Linked DNA regions of Homo sapiens: regions 2, 3, 4, 5, 6 and 7 are each linked to region 1. Evidence: promoter capture Hi-C in 16 types of primary human blood cells and fetal thymus (Javierre and others, 2016). All regions are on one chromosome and are shown on one strand. The core of a region is centred on a gene start or on the middle of the fragment in contact, and the rest is flanking DNA. Distances in the headings are between cores, read along the strand shown.

Region 1 (3,399 bases), core at 413-2,912:
CTGGGAAGCCGAAGGACAAATGCCTTCCCAGACACCTTAAATAAAAGCAGAGTCAGGGAGCGCGGAAGCCCACGCCAGGGAGAGCAGGAAGATAGTTAAGTGTCTTACACTCATTGCCATTTACAAAATGGTTCTCCTTAATTTTCTTCAAACAAGGCTATGCATATATTGGTGTCTGGAAATGAAATTAATTAGTAAATCAAATCAATACATTCTTATTGGCCAAGCATCACTCACGATCCCTTCTGACTTCATCCTAAAAGTGGACCCAACCAACAACCCCCTATGTTGCTTCACAAGTAATTTCTGACCAGTCAGGCACAGATGCCATGCAAAAGACAAGGCCTCAAGGTGCCATTATCTGTCAAATGGACCCAAGGCAGGATGAGGCTGAATGAAAGAGGAGGAAGAGGAAGAAAGGCTCACTCAGGGGGAGAGGGGAAGCTGCTGCAAGCTAACTACTGCTCTCACTGACTCAGGATGCCCATTTCTCACAACCAGAGGCCACAGTTTTGGAGCAGACAAGAGACTGCAGAGAGGCTTGCTGAAGCTCACTCCACGGCTGGATTCCTGGCAGGATGAGAAATGGAGTTCTAGTAAACTAGAAGGAATGCTGCTGGCAGGAGACAGACCTCTCGAGAGGGCTTTAAATGGAAATATGAGAGCACGAGAGGAACTCTAAGTGTAGAAAATGCACTGGGCAAACAAGCGTGTCGCAGATGTGGGCGCCCCAGAAGGGAAGGAGCTCTGGAGTCACAGGGGACCCAAAGGACAGAATGTCAGGTGGCCCTCCAAGCCCGCAGGTGGCAATGGGAACAAGGCGGGAAATGAACTGGAGAGCTGAAGGCGGGGGCCTAGGAGGAGGCCGCAGAGCTGTGATGAAGGGCTGCTCATCAGAGGCACATGCACGGGTCAGATAAAGAAGCTCCGCTGCGAAGACAGGGGGCAATGCAAGGCCACAGCCGAAGATTCCATGCATGCTCTTCACGGTGGCAAATTCAAAAGCCTTGGAGGGCAGCATGCTTCTATGATAATAGGGAATGGGGGCCGGGGGGAATATGTAGACCCCATATCAATGCTCTCAAAACCTCTCTCTCTCTCTCTCTCTCTGTCTCTCTCCCTCCCTCTCTCTTGCTCACTCTCTCTCTCTCTCTCTCTCTCTCTCTGTCTCTCTCCCTCCCTCTCTCTTGCTCACTCTCTCTCTCTCTCTTTGTCGTGCTCTCTCTCTCCCTCTCTCTCCCACTCCCCACCTCTGGCCTAATATACCTGCATGTCCACAGAGGCACCAATCTGCAATGATGATGGACTCTCTCACCCACCCTGCTACTAGGAAACTTCTTCCATATATCATAAACAGAGACCAGTATTACAATACTTCACCCACTGCGCCAATTTGGCTTTCATGTCTGTTTCCTGTGTCGATCACAACATCCTAGACAGCCCAAACAAGGCTTTATTCACCTCTAGTCCCCGGTCCCTGGAACAGCAGACAATAAATAAGGAATCAACAAGTGTCCTTCACTGCCGCACACATTGGCTGTGAATATCCTTTTGCAAAGTGCAGAACATCTGAAAGATTCTCACATTGACTAAACAACAGTGTGACCTGAAGTTAAGAGAACCATAAAGGTAAATGATTGCTAGAAGTTTAATTCCAAACAAGGAAGAGCAATTTGATGCAATGGGCAGAAGACAAACATTGGGAGAATGAGAACGTATCCTCTTGAGTTGTGATGTGAACAAACAGAGATTCCAAGATCTTGCAAAAGCGAACAGTCAGCAACCAGCATGGTGCTTAGAGTAGTCCCTGGGCAACAGAAAAAAAACAGATAAATGAAGAAACATGGACAATCACCCTACCTGGGTCTCAGCGTGAGGAGGAGAACTAGGACTTCCAGACAGAAAAGAGGAGAAGCATGAGGAGGGGGCTGGGAAAGACATTTCCCTGTGGGCATGTGGTGCCCTCCACTGGGGCCAGAATTCCCAACCTGCCTCACTCTCCCCATCTGTGAAATTGGCTGATTCCCTGAGGTCCCTCCCAGCACTGACTATCAAGTGACAGAGAACCTAGAAACTCCAGGAGCTCCATCAGAGCCCTGACTACCTGTCCAAGTGAGACTGTGGGAGCCTCACTCTTCTCACACCTGTAAACTGAGGGTGCTGCAGTGTCAGCTATATCAACACTCCCAAGTATGCCTTTGCCAAAACCTCTATGGATGAGAAAGGAAAAGAGCATGTATGGAATTGGCCAGGGCTTAGAACCATCTTGAACATGACACACTTATGCACATCGTCACATCTTCCCAGCATCCCTGTCCCACCTCGGGCAGCAACTGTCAAAGTTCTGCCCCCAGGATGACCTCCCAGAGTCCTCAGGGCAGCTCCATCTCTCCAGCCCTCATTCCTTTCCAGCTCTTTGGTGTTTCCCTGTAATAAAAACACTGTGCACTTCTCTTTTCATGTTTTAACCATGAAGTGCCTTCCTCCAGACAAGTACTTTAATCCTTACTCCAGTCAGAATAGGTAACATCAGCATAATTACCATCATTACTCCCATTTTACAGAGGAGAGGGCTGAGGCTCACGTAAGACCTAATCTTCATCTTCCCAGGGATCCTCCAACTCCTAGCCAGGCCTCTCCCAGCTCCTAAATCAATCATGAAAGACTACAGCAATCACATCCAGTACTTTTCTGATCTAGTGTCTTTGCCGCTAAATAAAGGCAGAAATCAAGGTGGCAGGATCAATCCTGTATTCAAATCACTGTACTGTCTGCCACCCTCCTATGCTGGTCCAGGGAGCAGAACTGAAAATGTGCCTCAAGGCCCCAATCCAAAACAGATGCCATCACCCTGGACAGATTCTCCAACCATGCTCCAAGACTGGTATCCATCTCACTTCAACCAGCCCTCCTTCCCAGGCCTGGGTCTGTCTACTGGCACAGGGGGACCCTGCCATGAAAATGAGGGCATCTCTACTGGATTGCAGGCGATCCCCTCGCTGGGCTGGCCCACCCATTCAACCATCACTGGACCACCCCCAGGCCTGCTACCCCTTCAGACACTCAGCCTCATACTGCCTAGCTCTTTCTACCAGGTCTCTCCCTCAGATCAATTCCACCTCAGCCCCAAACTTGCCATCTCCTAAGCAGATTTATACTTCTTCCCAATTTCTATCCTTCCTCTAGCTCATTACTGCTTTCCTGTTGCTTAAGCTAAGTCTATTTCAAATTATAGCTCAGAGAGGGCAGGTGACTTGTTCAAGACTACACAGCCATTTAGTGGCAAAGCTGGGGCTTGAACCCAGCTCTCCCAATTCTAAGCCTTGTGTTTTTCCACTAAATCTCAGCTGTCTCTCTCTATCATACTGCTCAAGAAGCCACTGGTGCATGAGAGGGTGC
Region 2 (3,399 bases), core at 341-2,840, 490 kb before region 1:
TTCATCAGTCATCTCCTAGAGAGACAGAATCTTATGCAATCTTCTTTGAAAAAAAAAAAAACAAAAAAGAAAAAAATTACAGAGACAGAAAGAAAGGGACTCTACCCTTCCTTAAGAGACTGAGTATTGGTACTGCTCATATTCCAATTTTTCTCTTTTCAGTTACTCCAATAAGTCCCGCCTCTCCTTCCTCCAGTTTGGCTGGACAAGCTAAGTTTTCACATCATGCACTCAAAATGGGGAAGGAGAAACTTGTCCATTTTCTCTATGTCTGGAGGAGCAGGAAGAGCCACAGTATCCAGAATCATAGCTTCAGGGAGAGGAAGAATGGTCACGATCTACTGGCTAAATGAACTCTTAGCTGATACCTGAATCCTGAAAAATGCCCCCTACCCATAATGTTTTAAAAGTCTCAGAGAGACCAAAGCATGAGCCTAATTATGATTGATGTTGGTACTAATTAAAATGGGGAAGTATTGAGAAAGTGCTACATTGATTAATTATAGAGGCTGTACACTGTCAAAGAGTTTTATAAATATTTAATAATTTATCTTAATATTGATGTGGATGAATACCACCTTCATTTTTCTTTGATATGACTCTACAGTGGTTTGTTGTTGTTGTTATTTGTTTCCACATATAGGGCCCTATGTCATTCATGAGATGATGTAAATTGACCAAGCTCACAGGGCCCTCAGAGTTAAAAACAAACAAACAAACAAAAAAACGGTACTTCTCTATTATGAATCTGCCCAGCTCACATTTAACTTCTCGTGACTGGAAATAAGCTTTCTTTTACTTGAACTTCCACAGGTTGTTTAATTTGTACTCCTTCAAAGCATATAACCAGTGATAAGAAAGTTATTTATATGCCTTTTTCTCTACTGGAACAGACAGACCATGTTGCACACACATTAATGGCCCAAATGGGACTTAATATAGCTTGGGGATTCTCAGTACACGAGTGCTGAATGGAAACAGAAAAAAAAAAAACAATAAAAGAAAACAATTTTTTCCTTAGAAATGGAAGTCAAAAACTAAATTATAGATAGTAAAATATAAAGTGATTCGTATATTATATTGACTCAATTCCTCCAGTTCCTCTCCTCCCAGGGTTTAGACCTTTAAAAGAGAAAACATACTATTGTCTTGGCAGCAGCTCCAGGAGCAACTCTAAAAGGTGTTGTCAAAGCAGTGGAGAGAAGGGAACGAGCTTATGGAAAGAACAAGCGATTGGAAAACAGTGAAAGGCACCAATCTTCAAAGGTATAGGAAGAGGAAGGGCACAGACAGCTTATTCTGCTCCTGCCTGCAGGGCAGCCTCTGCCCAGGGTTAAGAAGCAAGCTGGTAGCAGCAAATAGAAACAAAAATGGAGCAGGTAAAATCACCCTCTATCCCCACCACCCCCTCCATCAACGTACACACACTGTAAGTGAAGAAGGGGTAAAGATAAATAGCATTTTTACTCCAGTCCTTTAACCCTCCCTAACTCCATCCAACGACAACAACAAATTAATAAGAAAAAGTTGCATAAACAAAACCAAGCAAAACATGAGCCAACAAGATAATGTACCAAACAGGGTAAGCTCTGGAAAATGAATGGGGGTATGGGTGCACTTTCACTTTCTTTCATGAACTTCTGCACTGGATGATTAAAAAAAAAAAAGAGTCTTATAACAAACATTTGAAGACAAAAAGCTCACCATAAATAGCATTTGGGAAACAAACTGCCTTAGTATCAAGAAAGATTATAAACGTGAGTTTTGTCTTCCAGGAATGCAAATAGCTTCCTCATTTCTACCCCTCCCAGTTCTTGCTTAAATTCTTACGCAGTCAGTTCAGACTTGTTCAGTTTGATACCTCAAGTGTGAGCAAGAAAGCATTCAAAATGCAAACACGAAAATTAATGGAAAATTTTCAAGCGCTTCTATTTAAACAATGATTGCTATATGTCTTTTTGCCCTTCAGTGGCAGCTTTACTAGCAACCAATGAAGAATACTTATTTTCTTTATAATTAGATGCTCCACAAATGCAGTAAATGACACAAAAAGAGCATGTTTAGAGCTCTCATTTCTGGCTGACTAATTAGTCAATATTATATTCAAATGCAACTTCTGGTATTTCACCCATTCCGGGCCTAGAGTCTCCTGCACCTCCACTGAGGGTGGGTGCCTAGTATAGTAATTTGTCTGAAACAGACTCATAGTTTTCAGGAGAGAATGGGTAAACTGCTCTACTGTTACATCTCAAAATGCAAATAAGGAAGAGCAAATAATTAACTAGAAACTTAAAAAAAAATAACATAGGCAACTGCCCCTTGATTATCAGAATTCATGACTTTCTGGGCAAAGGGGGCCATGGAGCAGATTCTTAACATTAACGAAAGCTTGTCTCCTTTTATCATGTCAAGATGTAATCTTCCTATTGATGTAGTAAGGGAAAGGGGGAGGGGAAGGCATTAATAAATGAGATTTGTGATTTGCATAGAAAAAAATGGCTGATTGGTTTCAATTTAAATAAATATTGAAGTTTGATAAACTGAAGTAAATGCTGACAACTCTGCCAACACAACTAGATGTTAAATTTTTATAGCCTTTAACTTGATTGCAAAGGGACTCCTGTGAAACTTTTAAAAGACAAGGGATAATATGCCAAAATAATTTATTCCTTACACATTTATTAATTGAAAGAGGCAATGCTAGGTCCTATGGGGATAGGACAAAGGAATTCAAATTGTTATTCTTTTCAAAGTTTTAGTATCTATGGTCGTTATAATAACTATAATCCAAGGTAGATATTAAATGCCATAAAAGAGGCAGAGCCATTTTCAGCTGCGTAGTACTTGATCTAAGACTTTCAAAATTGGAAAGATTTTAGAACGTAGAGAGAACAATCTGGCAAGACTTAAACTGCATAAACAAATATGTGGAGAAAGGACAACTTATGTAGAAAACGCGGGGGAAACTGAAATTGCCCTATTGGGTTAGAAACCTATAACTGCCCAGAAGTAGCAACGGAGCTGAAGTCAGAAAGACAATGGAAGAAAATGATGGAAGTCTTAGGATGGCAACGAGGACACATTAATCATGGTAGCGCTCCAAATATAAAGCCTGTGGTCATAAGATGTGACCATTTGGAATCCCTTGACTTGAGTTTGTTCCCGTCATCCTTCCAACCTTTCAGTTTGGAGGCAAAGGAGGTTGTATCCAGAAATAAGTATAATCTTCAAATGTGCCTGTGGTCAAAGCCTTAGCACCAACCACATGAGTTTAATCCAACGGCAAAATTATACAGTGGAAGAGGAAGTAACGTGCGTGCCAACGTGGAGGTGAGTTTAGTTCAACATGAGGTCCCAGTCTCAAAAATGCTCTCATCTGAAAAGAGTTCAAACCTCTGC
Region 3 (3,399 bases), core at 397-2,896, 440 kb after region 1:
GGGGGTGGGAAAGGACTAAGAGCTCTGTAAAAATACAAACCAAATGCTGGTGGTGCTTCCACACCTGCGGCATTTGGGGTGGGGGTGGTGACAACATTGCCCACACTCAACCCACACACTCAGGAGTTGGGGGGGGCTGGTTCTTAAGACGAGTTGGCTTGCAAAGGAGTGAACTTGAGAAGGACCTGCGCCTCGTGTATGTACATTTGTTTTTGGCCAGGCAGAGGCTTACGGTGAAAAGCCCAAGGCCCAGCTGACAGTGGACACAGGGGAATTTGTTTGTTTGTTTCAATCCGCATCTGGAGTGAGTCATTGCCACTTGTCATGGTGAAATGGCAAATCTGGGCTTCCTGTGGTTCCAGAAGCCTGCGACTGGAAATCCACAAGCGAGCTGGTGGTTGAAGCTGGTTAAAGAACAGCCTAGGTATTCCAGAAGTGTTTGAGGATCCCTTCCATGAAGGAAGAGAGGAAAGTTTTTAAGTAAACCTCCCACTCCCATGTGTCTTCAGCTTTCTTTTGCAAAGGAGAAAATCCTTGAAGTTTGGTAAAGACCGAGTTAGTCTATCTCTCTTTGCCTATCTCGAGTTGGGCTGGGGAGAGGAGGAGATAGGTTCTTTTGTCTTTTTCTGTCTTCTCCCTTCCCCACTTCCTTCCCTCCAGTCCCCACTCACTCACATGCACACACTAACCTTGGAGCCGATGGGATTGAGTGACTGGCACTTGGGACCACAGAGAAATGTCAGAGTGTTTGGTTACAGACTCAAGGAAACCTCTCATTTTAGAGTGCTCATTTGGTAAGACTCAGCAGCCTGGAATGGGGCAAAGTGTTTGTGTGGGGGAAGGAACTTAAAAATGAGATTCACCCACATCAGGGTGCTGTCTTGCATGTTCTACAGCACGTAGGCTGATTTGGAAAGGGGACAGGAATTTGAGCCAGAAGACCTAGGGCCGGGTCACCAACCATGTACATGGCCCAACATGACCTTGTTGGCCTCAGGCCTCTTTACCCAGAAAATAGCTCTAAAAGGTTCTGCTTTTTTTTTTTTAAAGGGGGGAAGACAGTTCAAATATTGTTTTATTTTGCAGCCCACATTTGATCATAAATGAGGGTCTTACACCTGTGCTTTTAATGATTTTGTTTTAGAGAAGCCGGTTTGGAAGGAGGTACATATTTCATTAAATCTCTTCAAGGTTTAGTGCTCCCTGGCCAGTTCTCAGCTAAATCACATAGTTAAGTCTTTTACCAGCAGGGAGAAGCACAAACTTAGAAGCAATGGCATTCTGTCTGGTCTTAGACCCAGTAGGGAAGGGAGAGAACACTTTGAAAAAGAAGACAAAGGTTTTCAAGGAATACGTAGACATGACATCTCAGGCTGTGTTCTGCAGAGTCTATATTCAGTCTTAATGTTTCAGATGGGCAGGAAATACTGCCTAGCTGTTTGTCTTGAGCAAGCCACTTGAACCCCTAAGTCTCAGTTTCATCGCCAGTGAAATAAGGATAAAGATATTGGCCCTATCGTCCTTGCGGAATCATTCTAAGGCTTGAAAGATAATATTTTAGCAGGTTTTGAATGACGTCCAGTGGTTTTAGGCCACGGACGAATCGTTATTGTTAATGTTGACAGAACCATTTTTCTTATTTTTTCTTTCCCATAAACTCTAGTGGCCTTTGGATAGTATAAATTTTTTCTTTGAAGAAGGAAATATATGTATGTATGTATGTATAACTAATTAATGTATGCAATTGTACTCCCAGTACTCTGGATAAAAACATTATTATCTCATAGCTTCGGGTGCCTGTTGTTTCCGTAAGAGCAGAGCTGGAAAATGTTTGTTAGCTTGTGGTAAAACCACACCAGCTGGCAAGCTGCAACTATCAAAGCAAAACTAAATGTGTATGTCCTAAAATAAGACTATAGTGGACAATCTTACATTCGTTAAATCAATTTCTGTTTGCTTTCTTCTCTTCTCTGTAGGTTTTGAGCAAAATTTTGGACTGTGAAGCAAGGCATTGGGTAAGTAAATAAAATTATATGCTTTAAAATGTTGGGACAAACTGTTTCTTTTGAATTTGCCAATACATGTGTCTCTGTGAACTTTGCCACTGTTCATTATATGAGACAAGGATAACCAGTTCCCTCTACATCACTCCTAGTCCTCATCCTTCACCTCTGTATTAGACTGTCTTACCACTTGCATGGTCAATCATTGTTACTCTTTCTTTGTACAAACTAATTTAGCCAGCTAATGTTCACCAACAATATGCTAGCTCCTCGAGGTACAAAAGTCAAGCAACTCTAAAGCCTAACAGTAGAGAGAGACCAATGGTGACTGAGATGATGAAATAAGATACCTATGAGAATAGCTATGAGTTTTGAGAGCCTCCTATGAACGAGGAATGTATTTCTAACTTTTATAACCACATAGGTATTACTACTTCCATTTGGGGAAACCAAAGCCCCAAACCAGTAAACAACCTGCTTAAAGTCCCACAGCTAGCAAAAGGCAAGTCTAGCCTGATAATCTTAAAACACAGTGTCTTGACTGGGCGCGGTGGCTCATGCCTGTAATCCCAGCACTTTGGGAGGCCAAGTTGGGCAGATCACGAGGTCAGGAGTTTGAGACCCAGCCTGGCCAACATAGTGAAACACTATCTCTACTAAAAATACAAAAAAATTAGCTGGGCATGGTGGCAGGCACCTGTAATCCCAGCTACTCGGGAGACCGAGGCAGGAGAATCACTTGAACCTGGGAAGGCGGACTTGCAGTGAGCTGAGATTGCACTATTGCACTTCAGCCTGGGTGACAGTGTGAGACTCCATCTCAAAAAACAAAAACAAAAACAAAAAACACGGTGTCTCTCCATTGCAACATACTCACTACCTGTCAGTGCTTGGCAGAGTATTTGGTATGTGGGAAAAACACTCAACAAATATTCATTCCCTTTGCTTTTCCCCTAAAGGGCTTTCTATCCCAACTTGTTGGATAAAAGTTATTCTCCCCATTTTAAAACTATGAAGAATAATGGCCAGAGTTGGACTATGAATTGTTCAAAGATCAAATACAAGGGACCTGAGTTGCATTCTGTACCTTAGCAGGCTAAGCCACCTGCTCTGATACCTGTGGCAAGCAGGAAACAGGTTCTGGAGGACTAACAGGATTTTGGCCTCTTTTTTCAAGTGAAGACAAAATGGCCTCGCCGGCTGACAGCTGTATCCAGTTCACCCGCCATGCCAGTGATGTTCTTCTCAACCTTAATCGTCTCCGGAGTCGAGACATCTTGACTGATGTTGTCATTGTTGTGAGCCGTGAGCAGTTTAGAGCCCATAAAACGGTCCTCATGGCCTGCAGGTGAGGGATCTGAAAGGAAAGGGTGGGTAAGTCAAAGTGGGGTGATGG
Region 4 (3,399 bases), core at 309-2,808, 420 kb after region 1:
ATTAGTTGTATTGTAATTTACTTAATCATTCTTCATCCAACATTCTTTCTTCCAGCCTAGTCATGATAGGACATGTAGGTTGTTCAAATTTTTTGTTGTTAGAATACAGCGCTAGGATGCATATACTCATTCACTGATTTTTCCTGTATGTTGAATTATGCATTAAAGATAGATTCCTAGAAGTGGAATCTCTGGGTCAAAGGGTCTGCTTATATTTATGATTCTTGGTATATGTGGCCAATATATCTGAAAAAGTCATACTAATCAACACAGTAGGACCTAGTCTCACTGCACTTCACCAAGAGTTATTTAAATGTTGGCTTTCACAGTGAATATAAGTGTTAGTTCAAAGATCTTATAACTACTTGGCAGAGAGGCCAATAGATGTCAGAAAACATGAAGGGAAGAAGAGAAGAGACACTTAAAACTCAAGTGCAGCATTAGAAGTAAAAGCCATTGATAACTGACAATTGGTTAGAAATTAAAAAAGCATCTTTGAAGTCATAATGTACATCAATACAATAACAGGCCTCAGTTTACCAAAGTGGATACTGCAACAAAATAAATGATTCGGGGTGAACTGGTGATGGGAATCAGCTCTGCCACCAATTTGCTAAGTGGTGTTTGCAAATTGCTTTCCTCTCTGGACCTTTCTCAACTGTAGAACTGGTAAGCCGAAAGATGAAGATAGATGCTTTCAGAATTTAGAGAATTGGGTTGTACTCAGATAATGCAGACAAACTCATAGGGTTAAGGGGTCTGATAGGAGCTTCTCCTCTGTAGACACCGAGACTCATAACTCTGATGAGATCCACAGTTCTATTGGAGTTGTGCAATGAAATAGCAGACACTCTTGGAATCTCTTGGGGCTCCCCCAACTTCATGAATGAATCTCTAAGTTCTGCATGCCCCATATAAACTGATGACAAGATCTTTGAGAGCACTGTTTCCTTAGTGGGTTTCCACAGAGAAATTTTGAATATGGGGGTCCACGAAGTGGCTTGAGCCATCTACCCCAACAACAACATTTGGCCTTTGGTGCCTCTCTAGTATTCTCCTGATGGTTATGCAGATGGTGGCATACAGAAATGGAGTAAATTAGTAAACTAAAAGAATAAATGAGGTGCCCCATTTCTCTGACTCTATTCTAGGAAAATGAGTGAGAAGCAGGATCTCCCAGATTTCAGGAGAGATCTGGGTCACTTTTTGGAGGTTTCTGGTATTGAAAATTATATATATATATCCTCCAGCTGTATATATATATATATATATATATATATATATATATATATATATAACATCTCTATATGATATACGTATCTATCTATACCTCTATAGATATCTATAGATATCTATCTATATCTCTATATGATATATAGAGATATAGATATCTCCTCCAGGTAATAGACTTAATTTTTAAGAACATGTTTCAATTCACAGAAAAATTGAGCAGATGGTACAGAGAATAACCCTGTGCCCAGTTTCCCCTATGATTAACATAATACATTATATGGTACACGTGTAACAGTGAAACAATATCGGTACATTATTATTCACTAAAGTTCATCATTGATTCAGATTTGTCTAGGTTGATCTTATGTCTTTTTGTGGCCAATTATTCCATCTAAGATTCGACATTATATTAAGTTGTCATGTCTCCTTAGGCTAATCCTTGCCTGTGACAATTTCTCAGACTTTCCTTGTTTCTGATGACCTTGATGGGCTTGAGGATTACTGGTTTTTTGTAGGACGCCCCTCTACTAGAATTTGTCTGATGTTTTTCTTATGATTAGACTAGTATTATGAGAGCAGGACCACAGAGAGAAAGAACAATTTTCACCACATCCTATCAAGAGTATATACTATCAAGATGATTTATCATTGTTGATGTTGGTCTTAATCCCCTGGCTAAGAGAGTGTTTGTCAGGCTTCTCCTAAGCTATTTTCCCCTGACTACCTTTCCATACGGAATATACTCCCCGGGAAGAAGTTACTATCTATAGCCCACAATTAAAGAGTGTGGGTTTCTGTTTCTCCTCCTTAAGGCCGGCACATGTCTATAAATTATTTGGAATCCCTGTGCACATCTATATAAATAAATTTGGAATTACGGGATGTTTGTCTTTTCTCTCTGGTTTATTAATTTACTTAATAATTTATTTATAATAGTATGGACTCATTACTTTTTTTTTTTTTTTTTTTTTGAGAAGGAGCCTCACTCTGTTGCCCAGGCTGGAGTGCAGTGGCACAATCTTGGCTCACTGAACCTCCGCCTCCCGGGTTCAATGGATTCTCCTGTCTCAGCCTCCCGAGTAGCTGGGATTACAGGCATACGACACCATGCCCAGCTAATTTCTGTATTTTTAGTAGAGACAGGGTTTCACCATGTTGGCCAGGCTGGTCTTGAACTCCTGACCTCAAGTGATCTGCCCACCTCGGCCTCCCAAAGTGCTGGGATTACAGGTGTAAGCCACTGCACCCAGCCCTGGACTCATTAATATTTATTTTATACTTTGGGTTATAATGTAAAACACTATTCTATTTTGTTGCTCAAATTGTTGCAGCTTTGGCCACTGGGAGCTCTTCAAGTGGCTCCTGTGTCTTTTTGAAATATCCCTCACCAATGTAGTTTTGTTTTTGAATAATTCCTTACTTTAAGGTGCTACAAGATCTTTCATTCTCATTTGTGTATTTCCTGCCCCAGTTTTAGAACTCAACAATTTCTCCAAGAAGCCTTGGTTCCAGCTGCTGAGAAATGGCATTAAAACTGAGACCAGCCTGGCCAACATGGTGAAACCCTGTCTCTACTGAAAATACAAAAACTAGCCGGGCGTGGTGGTGCAGGGCTGTAATCCCAGCTACTCGGGAGGCTGAGGCAAGAGAATCGCTTGAACCCGGGAGGCGGAGGTTACAGTCGGCTGAGATCGCGCCACTGCACTCCAGCCTGGGCAACAGAGTGAGACTCTGTGTCAAAAACAAAAACAAACACAAAAACAAAACAAAACTGAGCTCTGAGCACCAGGTGTGCTTGTTGCTACGACAAATATATTTCAAACCTTATATTTTTAACACCAGCACCCACACAACTACAATACAATTGCACTATTCATAAAACAATTATAGATTATTAACAACATTCAATCATGGTGTCATAGGAGCCTGTGGTCCTACACTGGATCCCACACACAAAACTTGCATATGATGGTCATCTTCTTTCAGTCCTGTTAGGATTGAAAGAGAGATGTATAGCCTCAGTGGAGATAATATCAAAAGTCTAATTTTATTTATTTATTTCTTTCTTTATTTTGAGACAGGGTCTTACTCTGTGGCCCAGGCTGGAGTGGTGCCATCATAGCTCACTGCAGCCTCAAATTCCTGGGTTCAAGAAATCCTCCTGCC
Region 5 (3,399 bases), core at 514-3,013, 410 kb before region 1:
ACGGGGTTTCACCTTGTTAGCCAGGATGGTCTCGATCTCCTGACCTCATGATCCACCCGCCTCGGCCTCCCAAAGTGCTGGGATTACAGGCGTGAGCCACCGCGCCCGGCCAGAGCGCCAACTTTCTTTAAAACAACACTTAAGGGGCAAGCGCGGTGGCTCACGTCTGTAATCCCAACACTTTGGGAGGCAGAGGTGGGAGGATCACGAGGTCAGGTGTTCAAGACCAGCCTGGCCAATATGGTGGAAACCCCCGTCTCTACTAAAAAATACAAAAATTAGCTGGGCCTGATGGTGCGTGCCTGTAGTCCCAGCTACTCGGGAGGCTGAGGCAGGAGAATTGCTGGAACCCAGGAGGTGGAGGTTGCAGTGAGCCAAGATCGGGCCACTGCACTCCAGCCTGGCGACAGAGCGAGACTCCAACTTAAAAAAAAAAAAAACAATGTTTAAGGACTATTTTGCTAAAAATACCTACGAGGAGGGGAGAAACTCCCAGGGAACTGTCACATATTACACTGCTCAGCATTCTGCAGTTTCATTTCTCATAGAAATATCTTTTCTCTAAGCATGTTTTAGTAAAATGGGTGCTGCCTGAGGACCCTCACACACAATTAATAATTACTAATTTTTGAAACAGACACTCTAACGACTTTTATTAGTTTAACAGCAAGTTGTCTTACATGTACTTTCCAAAGTTTTCCAGACTCCTTTCTAATATCAATTAAACATGGTCCACAGTGGACTAATGAGGCCTATTTAGTAGCAATTCATAATTTACTGTGCTTGTACTGTTCCCTGCAGGGCTTTTTTCTCTCACTAAACCATAATCATATCTCATTACCATTGTTTCATTACTACATTTTTTGGTTTAAATTTTGTTGCTGGCATTTAGTTAAGAAAAAGACTCTTTCATATTACATATAGAACATTTTCCTCTTAAAATGTCAAACCAATATGTTTCCACCTGAAAAACACTGCACTCAACGTAAAACAGGCAATCTCAACAACAAAAATAAAAACAACAAAAGAATATTTTTTTCCTCTGATTTAAAAGTTATTTGATTTTGCTATAAAAATGGAAACAAACCTCCATAAAGCTAATGTATCTGGTAGCAATTTAACTTGTTGTACTTTAAAAGTAGAATGCAAAAGATCTTCACACCTCTTCCTGCCCCAAAGAGACCCTTTCCAGAAAGCCTGCCATCTTTTATTACAAAATGCAGTCATAGACCTTATGCTATAGCACCTTAAAGATGGATGCACAGCCTGTAAAACAGTGTTATCTAAAAATGCTGGTCTCCATGTAGACTTATATCTGTACATAAATATACAGGTATGTTTACATGTGTGTTTGCATATATTTCAAACACATTCAGTAAAGAAACAGAAATAATCTTGGAACTTCAGACATAAAACAAATACATTTACATGTTTTCTACTTTTTCCCTTATGAAATACCTGTATAAATATACAGTAATAGCAGGTTTTTAATTGTAAATGGTTTTGACGTTTTCAACTTCAGAATTTTAAAACATGTATTTGTAGCCCAGGGGCGAAAGCAGTATGTATGTCTAAGCTTTAGGACTAAAAGAAGAATGCCAAGTCCCCTGTGCTGGTCCCTTCAGTTGCAGAAGGGACCATTTCTCTTTGTCTCTTCCCTTTTTTACTAGGGGGCAGTGCTGTCAGAGTTGTGAGAAAATCTTTTCTACTATACTCCCCATGAATTCATTCAGTTGCCAAGGATATGGCTCAAGCTCAGAAGTCAGCCTTCAAAATAAGGAGAGGAAGAAGGAAAAACAAGTAAAATAAACTGATAGATCCCAACATAAAATGATGCATCTTAAGAGTAGAAAAATACAAAGGGGAGAGGGTTAAGACAGTGCATTTTAACAACCCATTGAATCTTCTTATAAAAACAAGGCATTGACATGCTAAAGGCAACAAGCTTAATAAGTTCTAACATGTTTTCCACCTTTCTGAGGACTCTGATTTCTCTAAATGAGTCACTGGTTCTCTGCAGAATCATATTAAAGTTAGATTATGCCGTGTGATTGACTTATTTATTTGTCCCTTTAAGTTGCCATCTGAAACATGAGCTCTGAGAGATCAAACTTCACCAATACTTGCCAGTCCTCAGTGGAAATCCTAGAGTAATTTCTTAAAACCAACAGTAAAAAAATTTCTAAACGCTTTAGGCAGTGATGCTTCATTTCAACTACATGAAAAAACTTTCATCCTAGTTTTAAAAAGTGTTATAAAAATGTTACATGAATGGAATTTTTCAGGGAGGGATAAATTTATATCACAGAGAGAACTCAGGCCATCTTCACCAGTTTTAATGTTTCAAAAAAGGTTGGTAGAAAAGAAGAGATCTGGGGCTCCGAAGTAAGATGATGTTGAAAGTATTGAAAAGACCCAAATAAAGAAAATGAAAGGAAAAAAAAAGAAGAAGAAAGAGAGACAAGCAAGGGAACAGGATGTAGAAATGAATAATTTAGATATACAGCATGAGGAATAAGCCATGCCAATAAGTAAAAAAACATAATTTAAATAGAAAATGGCTTGAGATTGTATTAAGTCATGGCCAACTTCACACACACACACACACACACACACACACACACACGACTAAAATTAAAAGAAACATTTAAACTTATTTTTCTAATCTAAAATGGGAAAGAAGCGCTTACTTTTTAAAGAAAAATTCCTCATTTAATTCTTTCTCTTATCAGAGAACCTTCTTTGTCAGTTTTAACAGCAGATTAATCACTTTCGCAACCTACGGAAAAAGTTTTCTGGAAAGCATAACAGCCTGCAAGTGTAAATGACAGTATTACTTTTCCTGCAGCTCACCCGCCTACAAATTCTCTCTCATCCATGACTCAGCATGAGGTAAAAGGAGCTAATGAAAAGGGCCACATTTCCTTTTAAAAATTGTGAACTTTCTTTCAAAGTGCAGAACTATTAAAAAAAATCCCCCAAAAGCTTGACAGAAAAATGAAGTAGCTCTCCATGAATGTTTGTCAGTTATATACCTAGAAAATTTCTTCCAAGTAATGTTAAAAATCAGCTTGCTGTTTGACTCCCACCCGAGGCCAAACGCTGTACTTGATTGGGGATGTAGTACTTACACATATCTATAGTACATTTGTAGGATTATGGGGGAGCAGGGGGCAGGGATAGAAATGTTGCTTTGCTGAAACCAAGACATCAAGAGGAAAGATGAGAAACACAGAACTTTGTGGTCAAGAGAAGGGACTTGTCCTGGGGCTTTCCCTCCTTGTAAAATACCAATTAATTTGATTTTGTGAAGAAGCTCTCTAGAAGCAGTCTGGTTCCTAGGGAGAAATTACAGAGGTAAGAAAATTCTATTTTATGATACAGAAGGAAAGATGGGAT
Region 6 (3,399 bases), core at 486-2,985, 390 kb before region 1:
AGCATTCCAAATGCTTCATACATACTAAGTTTTTAAAAACAATTCAATGACTTCCAGGAGAGAGAAGTTTAACATAAGCCATTCACCAAAAACATCAGGATTTCTACAATAATTTCTTTCTCCAATATTGCTTAATAGTTTGTCTATGTGCCTTACCTGCAAGACAGAACTCCAGGGTAGGGTCTCAGGCAGTCTTACTCATATGCCTTTGACCAATGACTGCCACAAGGCCTGTCACTTTTACCCTTCTCTGCATCAAATTATGAATAGAGTACACTAATTGCATGCAGAAGTTAGAAATGATATGGTCAAACAATGTTATTCTCCTGAATTAGTGATTAAGGCTATCAGATTGTGACTACTCAAAAAAAAAAAAAGCCATTAAACTGAAGTTGCCATTCATACAAACTGACTACCACTAAAGTAGATTTGAGGTTATCTAGGGTTAGAGTGAGAATGGGAAGCAAATGAGCATGGACTTTTTAAATGTTCTAAAATTAAATTGAGGTAATGATTGCATGACTCTGTAAATAAATTACAAATCACTGAATTGTAAAAAAGCAAAATAAAAACTTTTTGCCAAATATCCCTCTTCACTAACACAGGGACTGTTAGTATTTTCAGTTGTGCCTTTAGTGGCCAATTCATACATTTAGGCTTTGGAGCCAGATGGCCGAGGCTGAAACATGACCTCTGCCACTTAGTGCCTCGATGAGTTACATACAACCTTCTGGGCCACAATTTCCTCTGCTGAAAAATGGGAGAAATGACAGGCTACATCATTGGATTACTAAGAAAAATAAGTGAATTGATTTGTGGAAGTGATACAGTAACTTCTCAATAAATGTTTAGTTACCAATCCATATCTTTTATTTAATTATAATTTTTAATATCAGAAATAATTGGCTATTGCTGCAAAGGGTTAATCTGATGGGGAATTCTACATAAAATTCTTTGTAGATAAGCACTATCCTACACAATACAGATGACATACTTCTAATTTTCATTCACAATCCAGGGCCCCTCCAATTCAAGTATATTCAGATTATCTTTCTAAAGCATGCTTCTCATTTTTTCCTCAAACTTTCAATGCTCCTGTCTTCCCCCCAGACTCCTGTCCCTAGTGCCTGCAACTGCCTACAAGGACAAGGTACAGAACATATAAAGTCATTGCATTGCACCGAATCCAATTGTAAGCGGCTCTCCGAACCCTCACCAATTTATTATTATTATTATTATTATTTGGCTGTTTTCTTTCTCTGTGCCACTTACTCCATTTTCCAGATACTTCAAATTCCTCACTCAGCCAAAAACACCATTCTTTCACGCAAATCTTCCTTTCACAATTGCAATTTCTTCTGCCTAGACTGTGGTCAGCCTTGAAAAACTCCTGTACATCCTTTGTGACCCAACTCGAATGTCACATCCTCTAGCTGACCTCAATCTTCATTGTGACCTCATAATAAGACATATACACCCCTACTGAAGCGTAAGTTCCCCCTCTCCACCCTTCAGGCCCTGCAGCCACTGTCTGCCCACACAGTCCCAAATGTTATCACAATACTAAGCTATTGTGCATTATATGTGATTCACCTCAGAGCCACAGCATATTTTCTTTTCTCTTCCAGAAAAACTTCTTCCTCTCTACTTTCCCCAAGCCACTCACCTCGCAAACTCCTACAAGTTTGTCAGACCTCAGTTTAGTTCAGATCGGATGCATTCAGGGTGTTATGGCAGGAGACAGACATGATCATAGGAAACTTCCTCAGATCTTCCAAGACTAGGTTTGCTTTGTCCCTGAATATGCTTCCAGAGTACCCTCTGCTGACCCTGAGTACTGGTCTATAGCACCAAATGGAAGACTGTCTGTCGATACACATTTTGTGACAGGCTCAGTTTTGTATAACTATTGTCAATCTCCATAACCCTAGCACATAGGAAGTCTCTGGCACATATCAGATGCTCAATATCGGTTGAGTGAATGTATTAATCATCTCCTTTAAAACCAGAGTCAGTGGATTGAAGGGTAAGTATATTATATCTCAAAAAGCTATTATTTAAAAATAAATCTGAATTACCAGTCTATCTTTCTCATTGTAGTTTTACCTCTCAGTTGCTGGACAGAGGTCTTACATGCTTGCATCCCTATCGTGGAGCCTGAAACCTACAAGTTGCTCAATAATGTTTACTGAAATTTCATAAAAATAAAATATTATGCCAGATTCTCAGCCACTGAACTACTTTCTACAAATGACCAATTTATATGAAGCTCCTCAGTAGGTAAATTGATAGTGATATCACAAATCAAGCAGCTGGAAGATTCACTGCTTTCAACATTCACATTTCACAACTAACAATTGGGTCCAGTAAGTGAATTACCCGAGATCGTGCAAATAGGATCACAAAGAATGCCTTCTCCCTAATCAATATCATTAGTGGTATCTAACTTAGAAAGACTGTTGTAATCACAGTAGTCAGATTTAGTGTTATGAGTATGGACTCTGCCAGCAACAAATCACCAAATACAGGTGATGAAAGCTATAGCTAGAAATAAATAGATCACTAGTGGGTTTTTGAAAACATGATCAGATTAAACAGGTGTTGATATGCATGAGAAGAGGAATAAACTCTTGGTTTGATGTAAGTCATTATTTGGCAGTTGTGTAATATCTGATAATCCTTCTAGGCTCTATTTACTCAAAGACCAGGAACTATAAGTATATCTGCTTCATAGGACAGAAGCCAGTGAAATTGGAGACAAATATTTTACATACCACAAATATGGTATTCAGGCAATGATGATAACAGCATCATTCTATAAGACCAACTGTATGACAGGCTTTGTTTTAAGCACTTTAGACACACTTTACACACGGCTTTGACTATAAACTGCATCTTTTTTTTTCCCTACTAACCTACTAACAAAGAACCAACAGGTGTCACTTAATATGTGTTACAATGGTTTCTTACCACATCAATCATAGGATGTGTTTCAATTTTCAAGAAATTAAACTGTGAGAAAGATATTTTATAGGATACAAGTAATAGAGTATAATACATTTAATAGTCCTAACAATCCTATGAGATGGGTCCTATTATCATCCCCATTTTAATGATGTGGAAGTTGAGGCGCAGAGAGGTTAAGGAACTTGTTCAAGGTTACATAAAAGCTTTAATGACGAGAAAAGTTTAACAGAGACTCAAAAAGTTTTACAGCGTCATCTCTCAGAAGCCCATAAAATGCTAAGAATTAGGTTTGTTTCTCTAAATCATACAATTGAACCAGTAAACTTTCCTCACTGAAGGGTATGGTGTCCTGAGATCTAAGAATTCTCATGGCAAAGTATTATGAAAATAAAAGTAGAAAGATAGCAATTTTAAACTCTTCAAGTTTTTATA
Region 7 (3,399 bases), core at 659-3,158, 390 kb after region 1:
AAATCTGTATGGCATCCTAGAGCAAGAGGATGAAGAGGATGACGCAGTTTAGCCCCTAAGGAAACTGAGACCCAGAAAAAGCACATGTCTTGGCTAAGGTTACAGAACATGTCAGTGGCACAGCTGGGACTCAGAGGCTTGTTGGGCCATTGGTCAGTGCTCTTTTTATTATGCCAAACATGCTCATGTCTCCTCCTCAGCTTTTCAGGAGCTCCATGGCCAGTTCACCTCCCCATTCTGACACCTAACGCCGTGAGGCTCCGTCCTTGAAGAGATGTAACATGTTCTGGAGAAGATGTCAAGGGTCACTTCGAAGTGTGCACAGGTGAGTTAATGAGAGCTGCTGCCTTTCAATGTGGGCTACTGACGCTTTCTCCAACAGGTAGGTGTCTTGTGTGCAAAGGCCAATAGTATTTCCTGCAATCTGGAGGCAGATTCTGCTCACAATCTCGAGACACAGCAAACTCTCCCCACCCGAGAAGAGGATGGGATGAGGCACACTGAAGAGGTAGGGAGGAGGAGATGGAGAAAAGATATATTTTTGTTTGGTGGAGAACACACACTTTTCAATTTCAACCAAGACGTTTGAAATGCACACAATCACAGTTTCTTCTCCTTTCCCTCAGGAAAGAAAACTGATCCTGTAGCCACAGAAAAACAGGACTGAGACCAGGAAGGGCAAGTCGTGTGTGTCAGCATTGTGGACCTTTATATAAATAATAATTTTCCAGTGGGAACTGTGATCTCTTCTTGTCTCTTCTATTTTTAAATGCTAATTACTTCTGATTTTGTTTACGTAGGCGGAGCTAATAAGAACATTTGCTTCATAACCATTGAACCTAATGTATCTGTTTTTGGACACTGGTGATTTATTTTTGCACACATGCTCCAAATTGGTGCTAATTACTTTAAAGGATCAGAGTTTCTATTCCAAGAGGGATGACGACAGAATGTCAATTTGGAGTCTCTGAGCATAATGTCCCAATTATCAATGCATTCCAGACCAGAATGGACTTGGCACCTTCTTGAAGGGATTTGGCTTCACTTTTATCAGCCAGTCCCTGGTTGTAGCTTCATTAAAACTTGCTTTCTAGTAACTTGTGGATGTGCCTATACTTTTCTCTGTCTCAAAGACCCTTCAGTGTCATATCAGTATCCTGAATACCTACCTTTTCATTTCCAGATCAAATACTTCTCCCTCTGAGCCTTTTTTGATCTCTTTGGCCCAAGATAATTTTAATTCCTAAGATTTTCTGATTCCTTTCTTAAAGAGGTTAGCACTTTCTACATTGTATTGTAATCATTTGCTGTTACATTCTTACCTCCTTTCTAACAGATAAGCCCCTTAGTGACAATACCTTATCTGAATTATCTTTGTCCCCACTGCACACTGAAACTTCTCCTGGTGCCCTGTACATAATAAGTGCTTTACACATTGATTTAATTGCGGTTTGTTTATAATATCCTACATGCTCCAGAAAGATTTTAAGGTAGATTTAAATAAATATTTATGCAACAAAGGAATGAATACATCTATACGCACACAGAATTACTAAAGTCTATAATCAATATATGAAGTATAACTACACAGTACAAAATTTAACCATCATACCTAAAAGAAAAACAAACACGATGCTGTGGGGAATGCTTGAGAGGTAGTAACAAAGGCTTTAAATCTTAATGACCACCAAAGTAACCCACATTCCTGATATGGTATTTGCTCAACATGAATGTTTAGATGAACAGGAGATGAAAACTATCTGAAGTGAGGGGAGGGGGTGTCACTGACTACACAGAATAAATATGGAGCATATTGTGACCAAGAAGATATGGCCACAGAGGAAAAAGAGCAAAACAGGTCCATCCTAATTTGTTCATTTACCGTTCACTTATTCATCCCACAAACTTGTATGGAGAAGCCCCTATGTCAAATGCTATGCTTGCACTGTGGATGCAAAGGTAAATAAAAACATCCTAGTTTAGCTGTTTAGACCAGGGGTCAGCAAACTATGGCCAATGGGCCATCTCCGGATCACTGTTTGTTTTATAAATAAAGTTTTATTGGAATACACCATGCCAATTCATTTATATATATATCTCTTAGCCACTGTTCCTCCACAACTGCAGAATTGAATAGTTCTGAGAGAAACCTTATGTCCTGCAAAACCAAAATGTTGACTGTTCCTCATCTGTCCCTTTACATAAAATGTTGGTTGACACTGGTTTAAAAGTCATTAAAATACACTGGAGACAGTGCCATGTGGGGTAAGGACAGCGTTCTGTGGAAGACAACTCAGTCTTAGAAAGTCAAGGAAGGCCTCTTAGGGCAGAGACCATGTGTTTCTTGCTCACTGTTGTATTACAAGTGCCTGACACATAGTAGGTGCTCAGTAAATATTTGTTGAATGAATAAACAAATGATGTTACTTCTAAGATGAGAGTGAAGGGATGATTGGAGTAATCCAGGACAAACGTGGAGGGATGGATACAGCACATGCAATGATCTGAGGCAAGAGAGGTCCAGGTGTCCTGGTAAGCAGATGCTGTCAGTTGCAGGGAGAGTGAAGTGAGGTGTGAGGTTTGGGATAAGGAGAAGATAAGGCTGGAAAGTGAGCAGGAATAAGATCAGGCAGGGCCGCTTAAGCCTCCTGTAGAGTTAGGGCTTTATCCTGAAGGCCATGTAAAAAAAGTTTTAAGCAGGACAAATATAAGTTCAGAGAGTGCTTTAGAAAGACCGCTTGGGGTGCTTTGTGGGAGACCAGAAGGAAAGCAAACCCAGGGCTGGAAGCTGGGTTAAGAGCTGTGGCAGAAATCCTGGGAACTGCAGTTAGGCAGTGACACTGGGGATAGGGCTCAGTAGACAAATTTGAGAAAGATTTAGGAAGTAGAGTTGATAGGACTTGGCGGCTGAGTGCTTAGGGATGGAGAGTCACAGCGAGCGGGGGTTAAAGACGATAGCAATGTTTCTGCCTTGAGAGACAGGTAGTGGGGAGGGCAGGGCCCTTTCTTTAGATGGAAACACAGGAGGAATAAAAGGTTAAGGAGAGGGGGGAATATTGGCTGCGCTTGGGGCATGCTGAATTCAAGGTGCTTATGAGATACCCAGGAGGAATTTATACACACAGGTTTGAAACTCAGATGGGCAATCTAGTCTAAAAATCTAAAATTGGAAGTCATTAGAATCAAGAGAGTAATTAAAGCCATAAGAGTATATAACATTTTAAGAGAGAACTTGTAGAGTGAGAAAGGGTCAAAGAAAATATTTTTAAAACCGGAGGAACAGCATTCAATAGAATAACAGAGCTCAAGCAGCCCTTAAAAGATACTGAGAAAGAACATCCAGGAAGACAAGAAGAGAACCAGTGAAATTTGATGTGACAGAACCAAGGGACATGATCT

Evidence for each region. The method cuts DNA at HindIII sites, captures the fragments that hold promoters and counts their contacts. A CHiCAGO score of 5 or more calls a contact.
Region 2: a fragment that was not itself captured here is called in contact with the fragment with the promoter of FLJ42393 in region 1 in 2 of 17 cell types (total B cells and naive B cells); the score reaches 5.2 in total B cells.
Region 3: a contact is called between a fragment that was not itself captured here and the fragment with the promoter of FLJ42393 in region 1, in 3 of 17 cell types (monocytes, neutrophils and M2 macrophages). The highest score is 6.3, in monocytes.
Region 4: a contact is called between a fragment that was not itself captured here and the fragment with the promoter of FLJ42393 in region 1, in 8 of 17 cell types (monocytes, activated CD4 T cells, neutrophils and 5 more). The highest score is 8.0, in monocytes.
Region 5: a fragment that was not itself captured here is called in contact with the fragment with the promoter of FLJ42393 in region 1 in 1 of 17 cell types (total B cells); the score reaches 6.2 in total B cells.
Region 6: a contact is called between the fragment with the promoter of LPP-AS1 here and the fragment with the promoter of FLJ42393 in region 1, in 2 of 17 cell types (total B cells and naive B cells). The highest score is 8.2, in total B cells.
Region 7: a fragment that was not itself captured here is called in contact with the fragment with the promoter of FLJ42393 in region 1 in 2 of 17 cell types (neutrophils and monocytes); the score reaches 6.1 in neutrophils.

The regions. Positions count from the first base shown.
Region 1 is chr3:188,176,806-188,180,204 of GRCh38, reverse strand. It overlaps FLJ42393 (a long non-coding RNA gene), which reads right to left and starts at 1,662. Exons shown (of 1, transcript NR_024413.1): 1 at 1-1,662. The region is part of intron 1 of LPP (LIM domain containing preferred translocation partner in lipoma); the gene reads right to left. RefSeq lists an enhancer at 286-898. The HindIII fragment of the contact is 11,595 bases long and covers 1-3,399 here.
Region 2 is chr3:188,670,555-188,673,953 of GRCh38, reverse strand. The region is part of intron 7 of LPP (LIM domain containing preferred translocation partner in lipoma); the gene reads right to left. Among named protein-coding and RNA genes, the nearest start is that of MIR28, 17 kb to the left of the region's middle. The HindIII fragment of the contact is 1,600 bases long and covers 791-2,390 here.
Region 3 is chr3:187,733,485-187,736,883 of GRCh38, reverse strand. BCL6 (BCL6 transcription repressor) reads left to right here. Exons shown (of 10, transcript NM_001706.5): 2 at 1,977-2,015; 3 at 3,181-3,351. The coding sequence starts at 3,191. Among named protein-coding and RNA genes, the nearest start is that of BCL6-AS1, 8.5 kb to the left of the region's middle. The HindIII fragment of the contact is 8,715 bases long and covers 1-3,399 here.
Region 4 is chr3:187,752,221-187,755,619 of GRCh38, reverse strand. No RefSeq gene overlaps it. Among named protein-coding and RNA genes, the nearest start is that of BCL6, 8.5 kb to the right of the region's middle. The HindIII fragment of the contact is 8,209 bases long and covers 1-3,399 here.
Region 5 is chr3:188,583,774-188,587,172 of GRCh38, reverse strand. The region is part of intron 6 of LPP (LIM domain containing preferred translocation partner in lipoma); the gene reads right to left. Among named protein-coding and RNA genes, the nearest start is that of LPP-AS1, 17 kb to the right of the region's middle. The HindIII fragment of the contact is 369 bases long and covers 1,579-1,947 here.
Region 6 is chr3:188,567,002-188,570,400 of GRCh38, reverse strand. LPP-AS1 (LPP antisense RNA 1) reads left to right here and starts at 1,735. Exons shown (of 2, transcript NR_046623.1): 1 at 1,735-2,026. All of the region lies in intron 6 of LPP (LIM domain containing preferred translocation partner in lipoma), which reads right to left. The HindIII fragment of the contact is 3,783 bases long and covers 1-3,172 here.
Region 7 is chr3:187,790,293-187,793,691 of GRCh38, reverse strand. It overlaps LOC105374263 (a long non-coding RNA gene), which reads left to right. Exons shown (of 3, transcript XR_924812.2): 2 at 201-508; 3 at 627-1,097. Among named protein-coding and RNA genes, the nearest start is that of BCL6, 47 kb to the right of the region's middle. The HindIII fragment of the contact is 5,384 bases long and covers 1-3,399 here.